Linked DNA regions of Homo sapiens: regions 1, 3, 4, 5 and 6 are each linked to region 2. Evidence: promoter capture Hi-C in 16 types of primary human blood cells and fetal thymus (Javierre and others, 2016). All regions are on one chromosome and are shown on one strand. The core of a region is centred on a gene start or on the middle of the fragment in contact, and the rest is flanking DNA. Distances in the headings are between cores, read along the strand shown. Region 1 overlaps KIAA0232. Region 2 holds the start of LINC02482 (long intergenic non-protein coding RNA 2482). Region 3 overlaps TBC1D14 (TBC1 domain family member 14). Region 4 overlaps KIAA0232. Region 5 overlaps KIAA0232. Region 6 overlaps KIAA0232.

The links. Contacts are between HindIII fragments. The CHiCAGO score rates a contact against its expected background, and 5 or more counts as called.
Region 1: a contact is called between a fragment that was not itself captured here and the fragment with the promoter of LINC02482 in region 2, in 2 of 17 cell types (total CD8 T cells and naive CD4 T cells). The highest score is 7.0, in total CD8 T cells.
Region 3: a fragment that was not itself captured here is called in contact with the fragment with the promoter of LINC02482 in region 2 in 11 of 17 cell types (non-activated CD4 T cells, fetal thymus, naive CD8 T cells and 8 more); the score reaches 16.8 in non-activated CD4 T cells.
Region 4: a contact is called between a fragment that was not itself captured here and the fragment with the promoter of LINC02482 in region 2, in 11 of 17 cell types (total CD8 T cells, naive CD4 T cells, total CD4 T cells and 8 more). The highest score is 19.0, in total CD8 T cells.
Region 5: a fragment that was not itself captured here is called in contact with the fragment with the promoter of LINC02482 in region 2 in 16 of 17 cell types (naive CD4 T cells, total CD8 T cells, fetal thymus and 13 more); the score reaches 70.4 in naive CD4 T cells.
Region 6: a contact is called between a fragment that was not itself captured here and the fragment with the promoter of LINC02482 in region 2, in 5 of 17 cell types (naive CD4 T cells, naive CD8 T cells, neutrophils and 2 more). The highest score is 7.6, in naive CD4 T cells.

Annotation. Positions count from the first base shown.
Region 1 is chr4:6,815,171-6,817,870 of GRCh38, forward strand. All of the region lies in intron 2 of KIAA0232, which reads left to right. Among named protein-coding and RNA genes, the nearest start is that of KIAA0232, 34 kb to the left of the region's middle. The HindIII fragment of the contact is 2,108 bases long and covers 282-2,389 here.
Region 2 is chr4:6,672,431-6,675,130 of GRCh38, forward strand. LINC02482 (long intergenic non-protein coding RNA 2482) reads right to left here and starts at 1,451. Exons shown (of 2, transcript NR_134665.1): 1 at 1,254-1,451. MRFAP1L2 (Morf4 family associated protein 1 like 2) reads left to right here and starts at 1,645. Exons shown (of 1, transcript NM_138699.3): 1 at 1,645-2,700. The coding sequence starts at 1,783. The coding sequence ends at 2,142. RefSeq lists an enhancer at 639-1,247 and a silencer at 1,720-1,949. The HindIII fragment of the contact is 2,330 bases long and covers 1,049-2,700 here.
Region 3 is chr4:6,912,900-6,915,599 of GRCh38, forward strand. The region is part of intron 1 of TBC1D14 (TBC1 domain family member 14); the gene reads left to right. Among named protein-coding and RNA genes, the nearest start is that of TBC1D14, 4.4 kb to the left of the region's middle. The HindIII fragment of the contact is 2,613 bases long and covers 1-2,588 here.
Region 4 is chr4:6,855,739-6,858,438 of GRCh38, forward strand. It overlaps KIAA0232, which reads left to right. Exons shown (of 10, transcript NM_014743.3): 5 at 1,426-1,492; 6 at 2,687-2,700. Among named protein-coding and RNA genes, the nearest start is that of TBC1D14, 53 kb to the right of the region's middle. The HindIII fragment of the contact is 1,125 bases long and covers 866-1,990 here.
Region 5 is chr4:6,873,416-6,876,115 of GRCh38, forward strand. All of the region lies in intron 8 of KIAA0232, which reads left to right. Among named protein-coding and RNA genes, the nearest start is that of TBC1D14, 35 kb to the right of the region's middle. RefSeq lists a silencer at 644-803. The HindIII fragment of the contact is 3,243 bases long and covers 1-2,700 here.
Region 6 is chr4:6,835,895-6,838,594 of GRCh38, forward strand. The region is part of intron 3 of KIAA0232; the gene reads left to right. Among named protein-coding and RNA genes, the nearest start is that of KIAA0232, 55 kb to the left of the region's middle. The HindIII fragment of the contact is 3,921 bases long and covers 1-2,700 here.

The sequences.
Region 1 (2,700 bases), core at 86-2,585, 140 kb after region 2:
AGTTTGAAATTTGAGTGTTTGCCAGTTGTGTTCCTCATCATGCCAGGTGAATAAACATGGGTTTTTGCCTGTGCTTGTCAAAACCAGCACTGACCCTCAGTGCTGTGACCATTAGAGGTAAGTTTCACCACGGTGGATCATACGTGAAGTAAGTTTTAATTAAACAGATAATTCGTGAACCAACATACCTAGGAGTCTCCTTTCAGTTCACAACTAGAAATAGTCTCTAATTTGGTCAAATGTTTACCCCTCTACCAAAGGCTTGCTGCTTAGGTAGAGAAAGCTTAGTGCCCGGTATTCTGTACGTGGGTCATCTGCTAACAGTTTGAGTTAAAGCAAGGAGAATGAATACTCTTTAGCTCCAAGAACATTTAGATCTGTCATTATGGTACAGGAAGAAGCCATCGTGTGGTTGGTGCTTCTGTCTAAAAACCCCAGTTATTACTATCCACTGAAAAGTACTGCATAGATGAATGTAGAGTAGTCTGAAGCTACTTGTCAGCCTTTACTTTCTTTTTCTTTCTTTTCCTTGGTCCTCTGCAGTCTGTACTGTGTAGATTTTAATCACTCATGACTATAGATATAACCAGTTATTTTAAAATTTCATGCAATCAGATTTTGGACAAGTTGTAAGAACGGTTCTCTTAAGGATAATAATGCAAGCAAAGGTTTTAACCAGCTTTGAGATCATGTGGGCGTTCAATATGCTTTGCTTTATTTTGCCTTCGTATGCTGATTTTGTCTCACCTCCTTGAATCCTTTCACTTGGCTAAATAAATGTGAACTCTCTATCGACAACAAAAAGAATCTTATGGTTGGCTTGAGATCACATTTTAAAGTAAACATAATAAAACTAAAACAATATATCAGTCTTTACAGTGAATCCAATCTTTCATGGTGTCAATTTTTAAGGCCTTTGAGTTGTACAGTGAAACGAATATTTTAGAGGTTCTGTGGTAGACAATTGTGTAGAACAGCATTCTTCTGATATCCTTGTATCCTCTGGGTTTGATGTATATATTATTGGATTCAATTACCTGAAAATTTGTGTAAAATTTTTGCATCTGTACTCATGAGGCATATTGGTCTTCTTTGTTTCTTATAATGTCTTTTTTTTGTTTTTTTTTTTTGAGACGGAGCCTCGCTCTGTTGCCCAGGCTCGAGTGCAGTGGCGTGATCTCGGCTCACTGCAAGCTCTACCTCCCGGGTTCACGCCATTCTCCTGCCTCAGCCTTCCGAGTAGCTGGGACTACAAGCGCCTGCCACCACGCCTGGCTAATTTTTTTGTATTTTAGTAGAGACAGGGTTTCACCGTGTTAGCCAGGATGGTATCGATCTCCTGACCTCGTGATCCACCCGCCTCGGCCTCCCAAAGTGCTGGGATTACAGGCGTGAGCCACCTCGCTCAGCCTGTTTCTTGTAATATCTTTATTGGCTTTTGGTATCAGTTTAATGCTGTCTTCATAACATGATTTGAGAAGTATTGGGAAAGTTTGTATAGAATTGGAATTACGCTTTTCTTAAATATTTGGTAGAATTCACCTTTGAAACTATATGGGCCTAGCAATTTCTTTGTGAATTTTAAACTATAAATTCAATTCCCTTTATAGATATAGGACTGTTCATTCTGTTTCTTCTTGAGTAGGCTTTGGTAGTTTGTATCTTTCAAGGAATTTTTCCATTTCATTTAAGTTATTGAATTTATTGGTATAAAGTTTTTCTAATATGCCTTATTCTCATTTTTATACCTATAGAATCTGTAGTGATCTCACCTCTCTCATTCCTGATACTGGTAATCTATGTCTTCTCTCTTTCCTGATCAGTCTGGCTAGAGGTTAAAGAACCTGTTTTTGGTTTTATTGTTTTTCTGCTTTCTATTTCACTGGTTTCTGCTCTGAGCTTTTTTCTGCTTAGTTTAGGCTTCGTTTGCTCTTCTTTGTCTAGTTTCTTAAGGTGAAAACTGAGATCATTGATTTAAGACCTTTTCTAATGTAGACAGTGCTCTACATTTCTTTCTCAGGACTGCTTTTGTGGCATCCTAAAAATATTGATAGGTTGTGTTTTCATTTATATTCAGTTCAAAATATAGTACTTCCTAATTGGCATGATCTCGACTCGCTGCAGCCGCCTCCTCCTCCCAGGTTCAAGTGATTCTTTCACCTCAGCCTCCCAAGTAGCTGGGACTACAAGCGTCCGCCACCATGCCCGGCTAATTTTTTTGTATTTTTAGTAGACGGGGTTTCACCGTGTTAGCCAGGATGGTCTCGATCTCCTGACCTCGTGATCCGCCTGCCTCGGCCTCCCAAAGTGCTGGGATTACAGGCGTGAGCCACTGTGCCTAGCCTCCCCTATTGTTTAGAAATATGTTTTTAGTTCTCAAATGTTTGGAAGCTTTTCCAGACATCTTGATGTTACCAGTTATAATTCCATGTGGTCAGAGAACATGCATGTATGATTGAATTCTTTTAAGCTTATTGCACCTTTTCTGTGGCCAAAGATACAGTTTATCTTAGGTCAAGTTGGTTAATAATGTTGTTCTCTCTATATCCTTACTGGTTTTTTTGTGTATTTCTTCTTGCAGTGACTGACAAGGAGGTTTTGAGATCTAGTGTAATTGTGGACTTGTTTATTTATCTTTGCAGTTCTACCAATTTTTGTTTCATATGTTTTGCAAGTATGCTGTTAGATGTATAATATAAA
Region 2 (2,700 bases), core at 201-2,700:
GGTATGGAACTCCTGAGCTCAAGCGATCCTCTCACCTCAGCCTCCCAAAGTGCTGGGATTATAGGCGTGAGCCACACGCCCGGCCTGGGTGTTTATGATTTAGAATGTTGGTGAGAGGTGACAGTGTGCTGGCAGTCCTCACAGCCCTCGCTCACTCTCGGTGCCTCCTCTGCCTGGGCTCCCACTTTGGCAGCACTTGAGGAGCCCTTCAGCCCACTGCTGCACTGTGGAGGCCCCTTTCTGGGCTGGCCAAGGCCAGAGCCGGCTCTCTCAGCTTGCAGGGAGGTGTGGAGGGAGAGGCGCGAGCGGGCACCGGGGCTGCACACGGCGCTTGCGGGCCAGCTGGAGTTCAGGGTGGGCGTGGGCTTGGTGGGCCCCGCACTCGGAGCAGCCGGCTGGCCCTGCCAGCCCCCGGCAATGAGGGGCTTAGCACCCGGGCCAGCGGCTGCGGAGGGTGTACTGGGTCCCTCAGCAGTGCCAGCCCACCGGCGCTGTGCTCGATTTCTCACCGGGCCTTAGCTGCCTTTCCGAGGGGCAGGGCTCGGGACCTGCAGCCCGCCATGCCTGAGCCTCCCACCCCCTCCATGGGCTCCTGTGCTGCCCGAGCCTCCTCGACGAGCACCACCCCCTGCTCCACGGCGCCCAGTCCCATCACCACCCAAGGGCTGAGGAGTGTGGGCGCACGGTGCCGTTCTCGCAGGCAGCTCCACCTGCAGCCCTGGTGTGGGATCCACTTGGTGAAGCCAGCTGGGCTCCTGAGTCTGGTGGGGATGTGGAGAACCTTTATGTCTAGCTCAGGGATTGTAAATACACCAATCAGCACCGTGTGTCTAGCTCAGGGTTTGTGAATATACCAATCGACTCTGCTGGGGCCTTGGAGAACCTTTGTGTCTAGCTCAGGGATTGTAAACGCACCAATCAGCACCCTGTCAAAACAGACCACTCGGCTCTACCAATCAGCAGGATGTGGGTGGGGCCAGATAAGACAATAAAAGCAGGCTGCCGGAGCCAGCAGTGGCAACCGGCTCAGGTCCCCTTCTATTGTGGAAGCTTTGTTCTTTCTCTCTTTGCAATAAATCCTGCTGCTGCTCACTCTTTGGGTCCACACTGCCTTTATGAGCCGTAACAGGTCTGCAGTTTCACTCCTGAGCCGGCGAGACCACGAACCCACCAGAAGGAAAAAACTCCGAACACATCCGAACATCAGAAGGAACAAACTCCAGACGCGCCACTTTAAGAGCTGTAACACTCACCGCGAGGGTCCGTGGCTTCATTCTTGAAGTCAGTGAGACCAAGAACCCACCAATTCCGGACACATTGGGAACTTAGAGCAGTGCTTGGGACATGGTTATCAGCGTCAGATATTTCCTTAAACTAGCGTGAAGTCGACTTTAACCTTCCAGCAGTGTGAGTGAGGGCCCTGACCCTAGAATCAACGCCCAAAGAGCTGTGGCGCTACAGCGGGCGGGGACATGGGGTGCGCATGCGTGCGGGGGGGTACGCGTGCGTGCAAGTGCGCGTGCGCGCGCAGGACCGCTGAGGCGGGAGCCCCGAATGCGGTTCTCGCTTGCTGCGTGGCGGTAAAGGACCGCAGGTGTCGTAAAAGGGCCGCAGTGGCAGCGTCCTGGCCGACGGCTAGTAGCCCATTTTGGATACCGTCCTCGCTGCGGAAAGTTGGGGCAACCTGTTGCTAGTCTGGTCGTTGGTGACAGCGAGGCTTCCGCGCTCGCTGCTGGTGAGCAGCCCCGGCGTGCCCCGCGGGCTGGAAGAGGCGGCGGCGTGATGCGGCCCGTGGACGCGGACGAGGCGCGGGAGCCCCGCGAGGAGCCGGGCAGCCCGCTGAGCCCCGCGCCCCGCGCCGGCCGCGAGAACCTGGCCTCCCTGGAGCGCGAGCGCGCCCGGGCGCACTGGCGGGCCCGCAGGAAGCTGCTGGAGATCCAGAGCCTGCTCGACGCCATCAAGAGTGAGGTGGAGGCAGAGGAGCGGGGCGCCCGGGCCCCAGCACCCCGCCCGCGTGCGGAGGCTGAGGAGCGGGTGGCTCGGCTGTGCGCCGAAGCAGAGAGGAAGGCTGCGGAGGCGGCGCGGATGGGCAGGCGGATCGTGGAGCTGCACCAGCGGATCGCCGGCTGCGAGTGCTGCTGAGCCGGCGAGGCCGCGCGGGTCTGGAGCGGAGCGCGGCGGGGAGTGTCCCGCGTGGAAGGCGCTGGGTAGGCAGGGAGGGGAGCGCAGAGCCGTGCCACGCTCTCCGCGGAGTTGGTTTCATTCTTTTTTCATAGGTAATTAGAGAAAATAATTTGATATGTTGTTGTAAAGAGTCATGACCACTGGAAGTATTTTCAGGACGTAGACCTGGTGGGTCACTACGTGGGGGGAGAGAGGTGTGAAGCGGAGGTACATGCTGGAAACGTGTGAATGTTGTTACGAGATTGGAGCGTTTGCGATGACCTTCCTGCAGGTGGAAGCATTGTGCACAGGTGGTTGGGTTTGTTTGACTCCCGGATATGAGAATATCAAGCTCAAAATTTATGTTGTGATGATGAATTTCTCCCACTTGTACTTTAGGTGGCCAACTGACGAACTGTGTTCACCTGATAAGGAGTCGTGGCTGCTTGGACAGGCTCAAACCAAGAGAGCCTTTCGTTTTGTCTCCCCTGTTTTTCTGCCTGCGTTTTCTCCACATTAGCCACTCAATTTCCAGTA
Region 3 (2,700 bases), core at 32-2,531, 240 kb after region 2:
AGCTGGGACTTGAACCCAGGCAGCCTGCTGCTGGAACCTGCATTATTTTTTCCCTCCTGTTGATTTTGTTTTGTTTTTTGTTTTGTTCTGTTCTATTCTATTCTATTTTTTGAGACAGCGTTTCGCTCTTGTTGCCCAGGCTGGAGTGCAATGGTGTGAGATCTCGGCTCACTGCAACCTTTGTCTCCCAGGTTCAAGCGATTCTCCTGCCTCAGCCTCTCCAGTAGCTGGGATTACAGGCATGTGCCACCATGCCTGGCTAATTTTGTATTTTTAGTGGAGACAGGGTTTTGCTATATTGGCCAGGCTGGTTTTGAACCCCTGACTTCAGGTGATCCACCTGCCTGGGCCTCCCAAAGTGCTGGGATTACAGGCGTGAGCCACCACGCCTGGCCTATTTTATTTTTAAAACTTCATTTGCAGCCTAACAAACATACATAGAAGTGTAAGAATGGTTAAGTGTTCAGCTTATCGATGATCAGGGTTATTGGGTGAATATACCTTTTGGGCAACATTAAGGGAGCTGAGAGGAAGGGGGATAAAGTTTAGGGACTGCATTCATAAGTACGCCAGCAGGCCATGTATGAGCTTTGATGTCAGATCTGGTTTGAACTCAGTTTCTGTTGCTGTGTGACCTTGGGTGCGTGACTTAGCCTCTCTGAATCTCATAGTTTCCTCAGTGCCCTTGGCAGGCTTGTGATTATTAGAGCATGTGATGGCATCCCGCATGCTTGGTGCATGCTAAATGCTCAGTAAATTATTTCTCTTATGAATAATTAAGATTATAAACTATACCGGTTTTAAGTAGTCTAAATATCTTCCTAATGTATCATTTGCCTCCCAGTCACTTCACAGCTACTTAGGAAAATTAGTTAATTAGTAATTTACCAAATCACTAAGTGAAGCTGAAACATTTTGCATTGAAAGTCTTTAATTTAAAATGTCCTGGCCAGGCGCTGTGGCTCATGCCTCTAATCCCAGCAGTTTGGGAGGTTGAGGAGGGTGGATCACTTGAGCTCAGGAGTTCAAGACCAGCCTGGGCAACATGGTGAAACCCTACCAAAACAACAACAACAACAACAAAAAATTAGCTGGGTGGACGTGGTGGCGGGCACCTGTGGTCCCAGCTACTCAGGATGCTGAGGTGGGAGGCTCACTTGAGCCTGGGAGGTGGAGGTTGCAGTGAACCAAGATCATACATCTGTACTGCAGCCTGGGTGACAGAGACCCCATCTCAAAAAAAAAAAAAAAGTTCCACCTGTGCCTTTAATCATAACCAGTGGTCAGTATAAGTTAAGTGTCCGCTTCTTCGGGTTGTGAAGGAGCCTTTGAGGACCCTGAACAATAACCGCAGTTTCTGCCTGGTTTGCCGAAACATACATGGGCTGAAACTTACTTAAACAGCATTGTGTTAAGTTCCAGGTGTCTGAAAGTTGCCACTCACCCTCTGGAGGAATATGTGAGCTTCTAGGAAATTTTTTTCAGGACTATTTTTATCCTAAAGAATCACCCATTTAAAAGCCAAACTACTTTTATAATGGCCTTTTCCATTTTACATAATGCAGATCAATCCACTGTTTTAGGCTGTGTGTGTAGCAGTGGAAACAGTGAGTGCCTCGGCTACTCAGGCTAGCCCGGCACAGCTCTGTTACTACGCACCACCCTTTAGACCGCAGTCTTCTTTCAGCTCTTTGGGTGGTTGTGGAGGTGACAGAACTAGTGCATATAGACATGGAATGCAGTGCCTGATGTGTCATCTGCGCTTGGGGAGCGGAGGCAGCTAGCTGGTCATGTTCGTGAGCCTGGAGCGTCCAGTCCTTTCTGCCTGAGCCAGGACTTGAATTAAAAAAGAGAAAGAGGCTGGGCTCAATGGCTCACATCTGTAATCCCAGCACTTTGGGAGGCTGAGGCAGGCGATCACTTGAGGTCAGGAGTTTGAGACTAGCCTGGCCAACAGGGTGAAACCCTGTCTCTACTAAAAATACAAAAATTAGCCGGGCGTGGTGGTGGGCGGCTGTAATCCCAGCTACTCAGGAGGCTGAGGCAGGAGAATCGCTTGAACCCGGGAGGCGGAGGTTGTGGTGAGCCCAGATCATGCCACTGCACTCCAGCCTGGGCGACAGAGTGAGACTCTGTCTCAGAAACAAAACAAAAAGAGAAAGAGATGCAGGGGTTGGTGCTTGTGGAGCCCTCTACCAGGCAGGCCAGTTCACAGGGAGGTGCCCCATTGCCCAGTGGGTTCTCCTTGGCATTAGAGGCTCGACTGGGCTGTTTCTCTTGAACCGTGCTGCCCTCCAGGGCAGGACGCTCATAAGAGCAGCTGCTTTTATGAGGAGGCTCTTAGTCTCCCCAGAATCCTCACCAGGAAACATGGGGGACCCTGAGAGGCCTTGCGGAGAATGCTGTGGGTGCTGGGGACAGATGCCTCAGGTCAACCCCCTGCGACCGGGGTAGGGGGTTGGGGGTCACTGCACCTGCTCAGCCCAGTTTTGTTATTCCCATCTGGAAACGGTAGAACTCAGCATGCTGTTTACAGGGTGAGGTGAGCAGAGGTGCTTATGTCTGTGACATGCCTTTGTGAGCAGCAAAGCTTACTGAGGGGCCTTGGAGTCACAGACTTGAGTTCAAGCCCAGCTCCGCCACAGTGGAGACCTTGGGCAGGCTGCATGCCTCGGTTTCCTCCTCTGGGTAATGGGCATA
Region 4 (2,700 bases), core at 178-2,677, 180 kb after region 2:
AGTGTTCTGCATTGCGAGACTAGCCCTAGGTTTAGAAACCTAGTGACATAGGCTTGCTGTACAGAACAGTATGCAGTGTGTCAGCTGACACTGGTGTTGGTTTCACGATCCGAAGGAAATGGAATATAATTGCCGTCCTTGTCACACCTTGAGCATTATGGTAAGCAGGTGCTTTCTGGTGCAACTGTTTGTGGTTGAACAGTGTTTATGACTAATATCTGCCATCGTTTTTAAGAGTGTTTTTAAAGGAAAGGGCAACTCTTGTCTGGCCTATTTTTCTATCTTCCTATTAAAACCTGTGGTATGACGTGGACAGAATGTAACTCTAGATGTTTACAATTAACTGTTTTCATTGTAATCTGTTTCTTGCTACTCAAACTGTGTAACCGTGGGATTTCTTATGTAGGATATCTATAATATTTGTGCTGAGTCATTTTGAGTTAAGTGAATGGGGTAAAGTTCTATTTTTAGCCCGTCAAGGCCTAGTGAGGGCACTGGCTTAGCAGAACTCTCCATCACGCGCATCTGTTTGGGTTATGCCCACCAATAAGGACTTGATTCCAGTTTAAATAGGACTTTGGTCACTGAATAAATCTAAAGTTTCTGAGAAATACATTGACTTTTTTTGTCCACTGTAAAAAAATTTTTTTTTCTTCCTGTGAGAAATTGAGACTCTTAAAAGTTAAAGTCTACTAATGAAAGATTATTTGCTTGTGCCTGTTTTCTACATTCATTTTTCTTTAAAGGTTGACTCTTATTTTTACCCTCCCAAATCCAGACTCTTCTATGTACTCTCCTTAAATTTTAAACTCCCAAGCTTTGTATAGAAGTCGATAATCTGGTCCAGATGCTGAAAAGAAGACAAAGCTTTCACATTTGCAATATTGGCTTCATTTTCTGGACTTCTGTTGTTTTAATCATGAGTGTTCATGTTTCTTTAAAACAGAAAAAAAAAAAATCACCTTGTTTTCTTCAGGGTGTGAGCTCCTAGAGAACTAAGATGAGGTTTTGTGATTTTCCTTTGTTTTAAGTCTGGTATAAGATCTCGCTCACATAAATATTTAATACTCTTTTTGATGGTGACTGACTTTTGGTCGTATGATGGACATTTAGGCCCTTAAATCTGCCCCATGAGCAAGATGACACACCTTTGGAAAAACAGAAGCTATTCTGGGAGGTACATGAATATGTTCACATTTTATCACTAAGTTTCATTTAATATGCCTTATTAGTAATAAGCATGTATACCAATTTGTATCTACAAACCTATAATTTTTAAACTGTAGTATTCACGTAAATATTGGTAAGATATTTATTTTGGAATGTGGATGATTTGTAAAACCTGTGTATTAAAACAAAAGTATACAAATACCTGATTTGTACATACCTGGCTGTAACCTAATGTGTCTTTTTGTTGTCATGCAGAGCTCTGGTATCGAGACTTTAGTGGAGGAGCTCTGCTCCAGACTGAAAGACCTTCAGAGTAAGCAAGGTGAGGTCAAAAGCACTGTGCGCACACATGCCAGGATTACATCCCTGAGGAATCTGGATTGGGGAAAATCTTAGAATTGATCAGAAAAGAAAACAACCAGAACAAAGTCTTTGTGTCCAGTGTGTGTCACTAGGCCAGCCTCATGCTCCATCTGCAGCTCTGTTAGTGGCTTCTGTGTCAGACCCAGCAGTCACTCATAGAGATTCCTGCAACCAAGGGAGGGACTTAGTCCACAGGTGCCCTCAGAGATAGGAAACACTTCATGGTTTTCTGTTTTTTGGGTTTTTTTAATTGTTGTTGGCTTCAAGTTGAAGCTCAGAGATCAGGAACAATATTGTCTCTTTCCTTTCCCCATCCTTGCCCCTCTGTTAATATCTGCCTGTTGATGTTAAGACTGCTAAATTACGACATTAAATTAAGATGTTAAGACATGAATTACTTCAGGTTTGGAAGGGACTTCTGTTTTGACTCAGCTTTTTTGAAAACACAGACTTGGCAAGCTTATTTAGTTATTTCGATATATGAATCCTCCTCATACTTTTTCTAACTTGTTTGCAATCCCTAAGAACGAGACCTTCATATTAAGGGTGAGGATCCTTGTTTCCTTGCCCTCTTTATGGTCATTTTGCTGCCCACCAAGCCTTGAGCCTGCCTCTTAAGGGCACAGTTGATTTGTAACCTAAGGCAGTATCCTAGGCTAAACTAAGGGATAGCCCTTTTTCCTGTTTCAGTTGAAATAGCCCTTGCTCACCTACATGTTAAGTAATAGAGCAAATTGTAATAAAGAATATTCTTTACAGATTAGTTTTGGTCAAGATGAGTCAATGTAAAGTCTATGAGTGTAGAATTTTGTGAGAAAATAGTTTTGGAATCTAAACAGATGTTCTGTCCTTCTGGTCTAATTAATAAGTACACAGGGGACTTCAGTCTCTTAATTAAGTGCCTCTAGAGCACTGTATCAGTGACGAGATGAACAACTCTCACCTCTTGGCCTAATGCTAATGTGGTTTAATCGGAGAATTCCCTCTGGCACACTGAAAAAATAGATTTTTATTAAAAAGATCGGTATTGAGTTTGCCTTTTAAGCACCAAAGTCTCTATTTCTTGTTAAAATTAGTTGAGAAACTTTGAAATACATTAGCATTTATTAACTAGATATAAGACAAATCTTTCTTAATTTTTGTTTCATAACAGAAGAGAAGATTCAC
Region 5 (2,700 bases), core at 81-2,580, 200 kb after region 2:
GACACAGTTAATGGAATGAAGGTGGGATGTGGCCACAGCTGTGCCACAGAGGACCTCTCAGGAAGAGCTAGGAGGGAGAGGAGGATGCCACCTTGTGGAAAAGAACCAATTCCTTGCAGTGGCATAGGATGATTTTGAGACACAGAGTTCATGTTTCTTTAGTAAAGGGCAACCTTAGCACCCTTAGTCCAGTTTTCTGTCATTAGTTAGTAAAGAATCCAGTTTCACCTCTTAGCTCTAGGTTCCTGGTTATCTGTACAGTCTCTTAGTGGATACTGGTGTTTGTACATAATATTTTTGTTTTTACAGTGAAGTGGTATATAGAGAAACTCTCAGTGCATAAATACTGGTAATTATTTCTTTTGAATGACCTTTAGCTCACACTGTGAGTTAAGTCCCTGCATATTTGCCCTGTAGCATCATGAAGCATCCTTCTTTAGCTTATGTGGGTTGGGGCATTTAGTCTCAGAAGGATAGCCAAGAAAACAGGTAGTCACTTACCTACTCAGCAGAAGTGGCTGGGGACTCCTAATGCTTCTAATATTGGATATGATTCATCACAAGCAGTTGCTGCTCTGAGCCAGGGGCTGACCTGGGAGCTCACAGCATCTCTGGAAAGGAAGAGTAGCATTGTCCCCTTTACAGTAAGGCGAGGAAACAGGCTCAGAAAAGAGGCAGCTTGTTCAGGTAACCATATAAGAAAGCCCCAGCTTTGTGCAGTCTGCCCCCTGCTGGCCTTGCTGCGCATTCATATGTGCATCCCTTCAGCACTTGGGTTAGGCACTGTTCTAGACTTGGGAATGCATAGGCAAACAGATCGTGTCCCTGTCCTCCCCCTGCTCAGGTACCTTCTCAACAGGGACTTGAGGAAATAGGGCACAGACCATGTGACAGCTGGGGCTGCCTGCAGGGAGAGGTGCCAGGCAGCAGTGGCTTGTGCAGGGACAGGAATGCATTGGGTATGCCCCCAACATGACTGGCAAAGAAGGGATGGCATGGGAGTGTGGTGGGGATGAGGCCAGCCAGGCAGCTGGGAGCCAGACCACAGAGGGCCTTGTAGACTCTGTGCACCAGGAGTGCCGTCCCAAACAGCAGTCTCCACAGCTCACGCCCCTGGATTTTCAGTGCTTTCAAGACTCGAGTAATGTAAGCGTCTGGATGATTTTAGCATTAAAGACAGAGAGTCCTGCAGGGAAGCAGTACAGACAGGTGGTGAAAGGCCCAGGATTGAGAACTGTATTGGAATCCAGAGCTTCTTTCCCCAGCTATTAGGCTTTGGGTGCTGACTGAGCCTTTCTGTGCCTCTGTAGTCTGTATGTATAAAAGGAGGCTAGAAGAATGCCCTCATTGTAAGGTAAAGTGCCTAGAACAGTGGCTGGCATGTCATAGCCCGAAACAGGGTGGTGGTCAACTTGAGCATCATGAAGACTATCAGCAGCAGTTCAGCATCACCTTTTCCAAATACCCTGTGGCACAATAAAACCCTCTTGTATGTACAGAATTCCTAAAGCAGGAAGAGAAAATGAAGGAGTGGGGTGTGGAGATGGGCCTGCCTGCCTCTGAGCTATCCTTGTCAAGGAAACCATGTCCTATCCACTCCATGCCCCTCAGCCAGTATAAGTGGTGGCCATATGGAGTGGGCCATGGAGTGAGAAGTCAGCCAAGGAAAAGATGCCTCCTTAGGAGAGATGAAGCCAGGGTTCCTCCCAGCCTCAGCAGAGGACACATGGCATCCTCCCCAGCCGCCCTAGGGCAACCACGCCTCCAAGCCTATGGCTTTGATAAGCAGCGGTCATGGGTGCAATGTGTGTGCCCGGCACTGTGCTTGAGGCTTCACCTCTTTGAATTTGCACAGAAATGTAGGAGGGAAAATGGTGATGTTCTCATCTTAGAGATGAGGATACTAGGGCTCAAAGAGGTTAAATAATTTGTGCAAAGTTACATCACAAGTAAATAGCATGACCTGGAATTGACTGAAGTCTGTCTAATCCCAGAGCCTGGGGTATTCTCATGAACCTCAACTAGTAACTTGGAGTTCTTGGAGCCGTCAGAGAGAACAGCTGTGGAGAGTCTTCCATGTGGCCAGTGCAGCTGCAGGAAGCAGCCCAGCAGGGCCCAGATGGTCTTACCCTTGGCACAGCCTCGCTACTCTGTGCCAAGGTAGAAGGGCGCAGCAGTCACTTGCTCCAGCCTTGTCCTTTGGGGTGTTGTGCAAGGGGCAGGCATGTCATCTCGTCAAACTACCTTGTGGCAACTCTGTGGCAGGGGATGGGGGGTGTGATCTGGTTTTGAGGAAGTAGATGCTCAAGGGTGTTAAAGGACTTAATGCACCATGAATGTCAATGCCAGAGTCCAAAACCCTGGCCAAGTTCCTCCTTTTACTCTGCACTGTGCCTCTGCCCCAGCTATGTTTCTCATGGAGGTAAGGGGAGTAAGAGGCTGTTCTGGATGAAGACCAGCAGTTCTCAGTGCATTAGAATTGCCTGGGAGCAAATCTGCTTTTCAGAAAGTGCCCAGCCCCTGCCCAGGACAGTTCATTTGGAATCTCTGGCAGGAGTCTAAGCCTCTCTAAAGCCCCCAGATGATGAGAATATGCAGCCAGGGTTGAGAACTACTGGGCTCGTTGGATTTGTTTGATATCTTCTCATCCCAGTTTTTTTCCCATTTTGTGGGGCCATTTGCCTGATGGAATCGCTAGCA
Region 6 (2,700 bases), core at 59-2,558, 160 kb after region 2:
TCTTTGCTATTGTGAATAGTGCTGCAATAAACATACATGTGCATGTGTCTTTATAGTAGCATGATTTATAATCCTTTGGGTATATACCCAGTAATGGGAATGCTGGGTCCAATGGTATTTCTAGTTCTAGATCCTTGAGGGATCGCCACACTGTCTTCCACAATGGTTGAACTAATTTACAGTCCCACCAATAGTGTAGAAGCGTTCCTATCTCTCCACATCTTCTCCAGCATCTGTTGTTTCCTGACTTTTTGATGATGGCCATTCTAACTGGTGTGAGATGGTATCTCATTGTGGTTTTGATTTGCATTTCTCTGATGACCAGTGATGATGAGCATTTTTTCATATGTCTGTTGGCTGCATAAATGTCTTCTTTTGAGAAGTGTCTATGCATATCCTTTGCCCACTTTTTGATGGGGTTGTTTGTTTGTTTTTTGTTTTGTTTTTTTTTTTTGGCTTTGCAAATCATATATGTATATTGAAAATTAGAATACACAGTTTGGTGGCTTTGAGTCCTAACACTTTCCCCCCATTTCTTGTACTTGTAGAAATATTGTTCTCACTTTTTCCTGATTTCTTTGTTTCTCACTCTATTGTGCTTAATAATTGTATTAAGGGTTGTTTGTCCTTTTTCTTTTTTTTTTTTCTTTTCTTTTTTTTTTTTTTAGTATTTATTGATCATTCTTGGGTGTTTCTCGGAGAGGGGGATTTGGCAGGGTCGTAGGACAATAGTGGAGGGAAGGTCAGCAGATAAACATGTGAACAAAGGTCTCTGGTTTTCCTAGGCAGAGGGCCCTGCCGCCTTCCGCAGTGTTTGTGTCCCTGAGTACGTGAGATTAGGGAGCGGTGATGACTCTTAAGGAGCATGCTGCCTTCAAGCCTCTGTTTAACAAAGCACATCTTGCACCGCCCTTAATCCATTTAACCCTTAGTGGACACAGCACATGTTTCAGAGAGCACGGGGTTGGGGGCAAGGTTATAGATTAACAGCATCCCAAGGCAGAAGAATTTTTCTTAGTACAGAACAAAATGGAGTCTCCTGTCTATTTCTTTCCACACAGACACGGTAACAATCTGATCTCCCTTTCTTTTCCCCACACTTCCCCCCTTTCTATTCGACAAAACCGCCATCGTCATCATGGCCCATTCTCCATGAGCTGTTGGGTACACCTCCCAGACGGGGTGGCGGCCGGGCAGAGGGGCCCCCACCTCCCAGACGGGGCAGCGGCCGGGCGGGGGCTGCCCCCCACCTCCCGAACGGGCCGGCTGGCGGGGCGGAGGGGCTCCTCACTTCCCAGGCGGGGCGGCTGCCGGGCGGAGGGGCTCCTCACTTCTCAGAAGGGGCGGCGGGTCACAGACGCTCCTCACCTCCCAGACGGGTTGGCGGCGGGGCAGAGACGCTCCTCAGTTCCCAAATGGGGTCGCGGCTGGGCAGAGGTGCTCCCCACATCCCAGACGATGGGCGGCCGGGCAGAGAGGCTCCTCACTTCCTAGACGGGATGACGGCCGGGAAGAGGCGCTCCTCACTTCCCAGGCTGGGCGGCCGGGCAGAGGGGCTCCTCACATCCCAGACGATGGGCGGCTGGGCAGAGACGCTCCTCACTTCCTAGACGGGGTGGCGGCCAGGCAGAGGCTGCAGTCTCGGCACTTTGGGAGGCCAAGGCAGGCGGCTGGGAGGTGGAGGTTGTAGCGAGCCGAGATCACGCCACTGCATTCCAGCCTGGGCAACATTGAGCACTGAGTGAGCGAGACTCCGTCTGCAATCCCGGCACCTCGGGAGGCCGAAGCTGGCAGATCACTCGCGGTCAGAAGCTGGAGACCAGCACAGCCAACACGGCGAAACCCCGTCTCCACCAAAAAATACAAAAACCAGTCAGGCGTGGGCGGCGCGTGCCAGCAATCCCAGGCACCGGGCAGGCTGAGGCAGGAGAATCAGGCAGGGAGGTTGCAGTGAGCCGAGATGGCGGCAGCACAGTCCAGCCTTGGCTGGGCATTAGAGGGAGACCGTGCAAAGGGGAGAGGGGGAGGGGGAGGGAGAGGGAGAGGGAGAGGCAGAGGCGGTTGTTTGTTTTTTTCTTGTAAATTTGTTTAAGTTCTTTGTAGATTCTGGATATTAGCCCTTTGTCAGATGGATAGATTGCAAAAATTTACTCCCATTCTGTAGAATTAGGATTTCTAACCTGTAGTGTTGCATTTGAGAGTCTATGGAGCAATACCTTTCAGATTCTGAGAAAAATTATCTCCATTCTAAAAGATCTTACCCGAACTAGTAAGTATGAGGGTAACAAAGATAGCTTTTTTTTTTTTTTTTTGAGACAGGGTCTTACTCTGTCACCCAAACTGGAGCACAGTGGCGTGATCTCTGCTCACTGCAGCCTCCGCCTCCCAGGCTCAAGCAATTCTCCCACCTCAGCCTTCCAAGTAGCTGGGACTGCAGGTGGACACCACCATGCCCGGCTAATTTTTGTATTTTTCTTGGAGACAGAGTTTCACAATGTTGGCCAGGCTGTTCTCAAACTCCTGGGCTCAAGTGATCTGCCCACCTCTGCCTCCCAAATTGCTAGGATTATAGGTATGAGCCACCATATGCCCCACCTAAAGATAGCTTTTGACAGATGAGGCTTCTGAGGTTACTGGGAGTATTCTAGGTCTGACTGTTACCTGATAGATATATTATTATTCTTAAAACTGTACATTTAC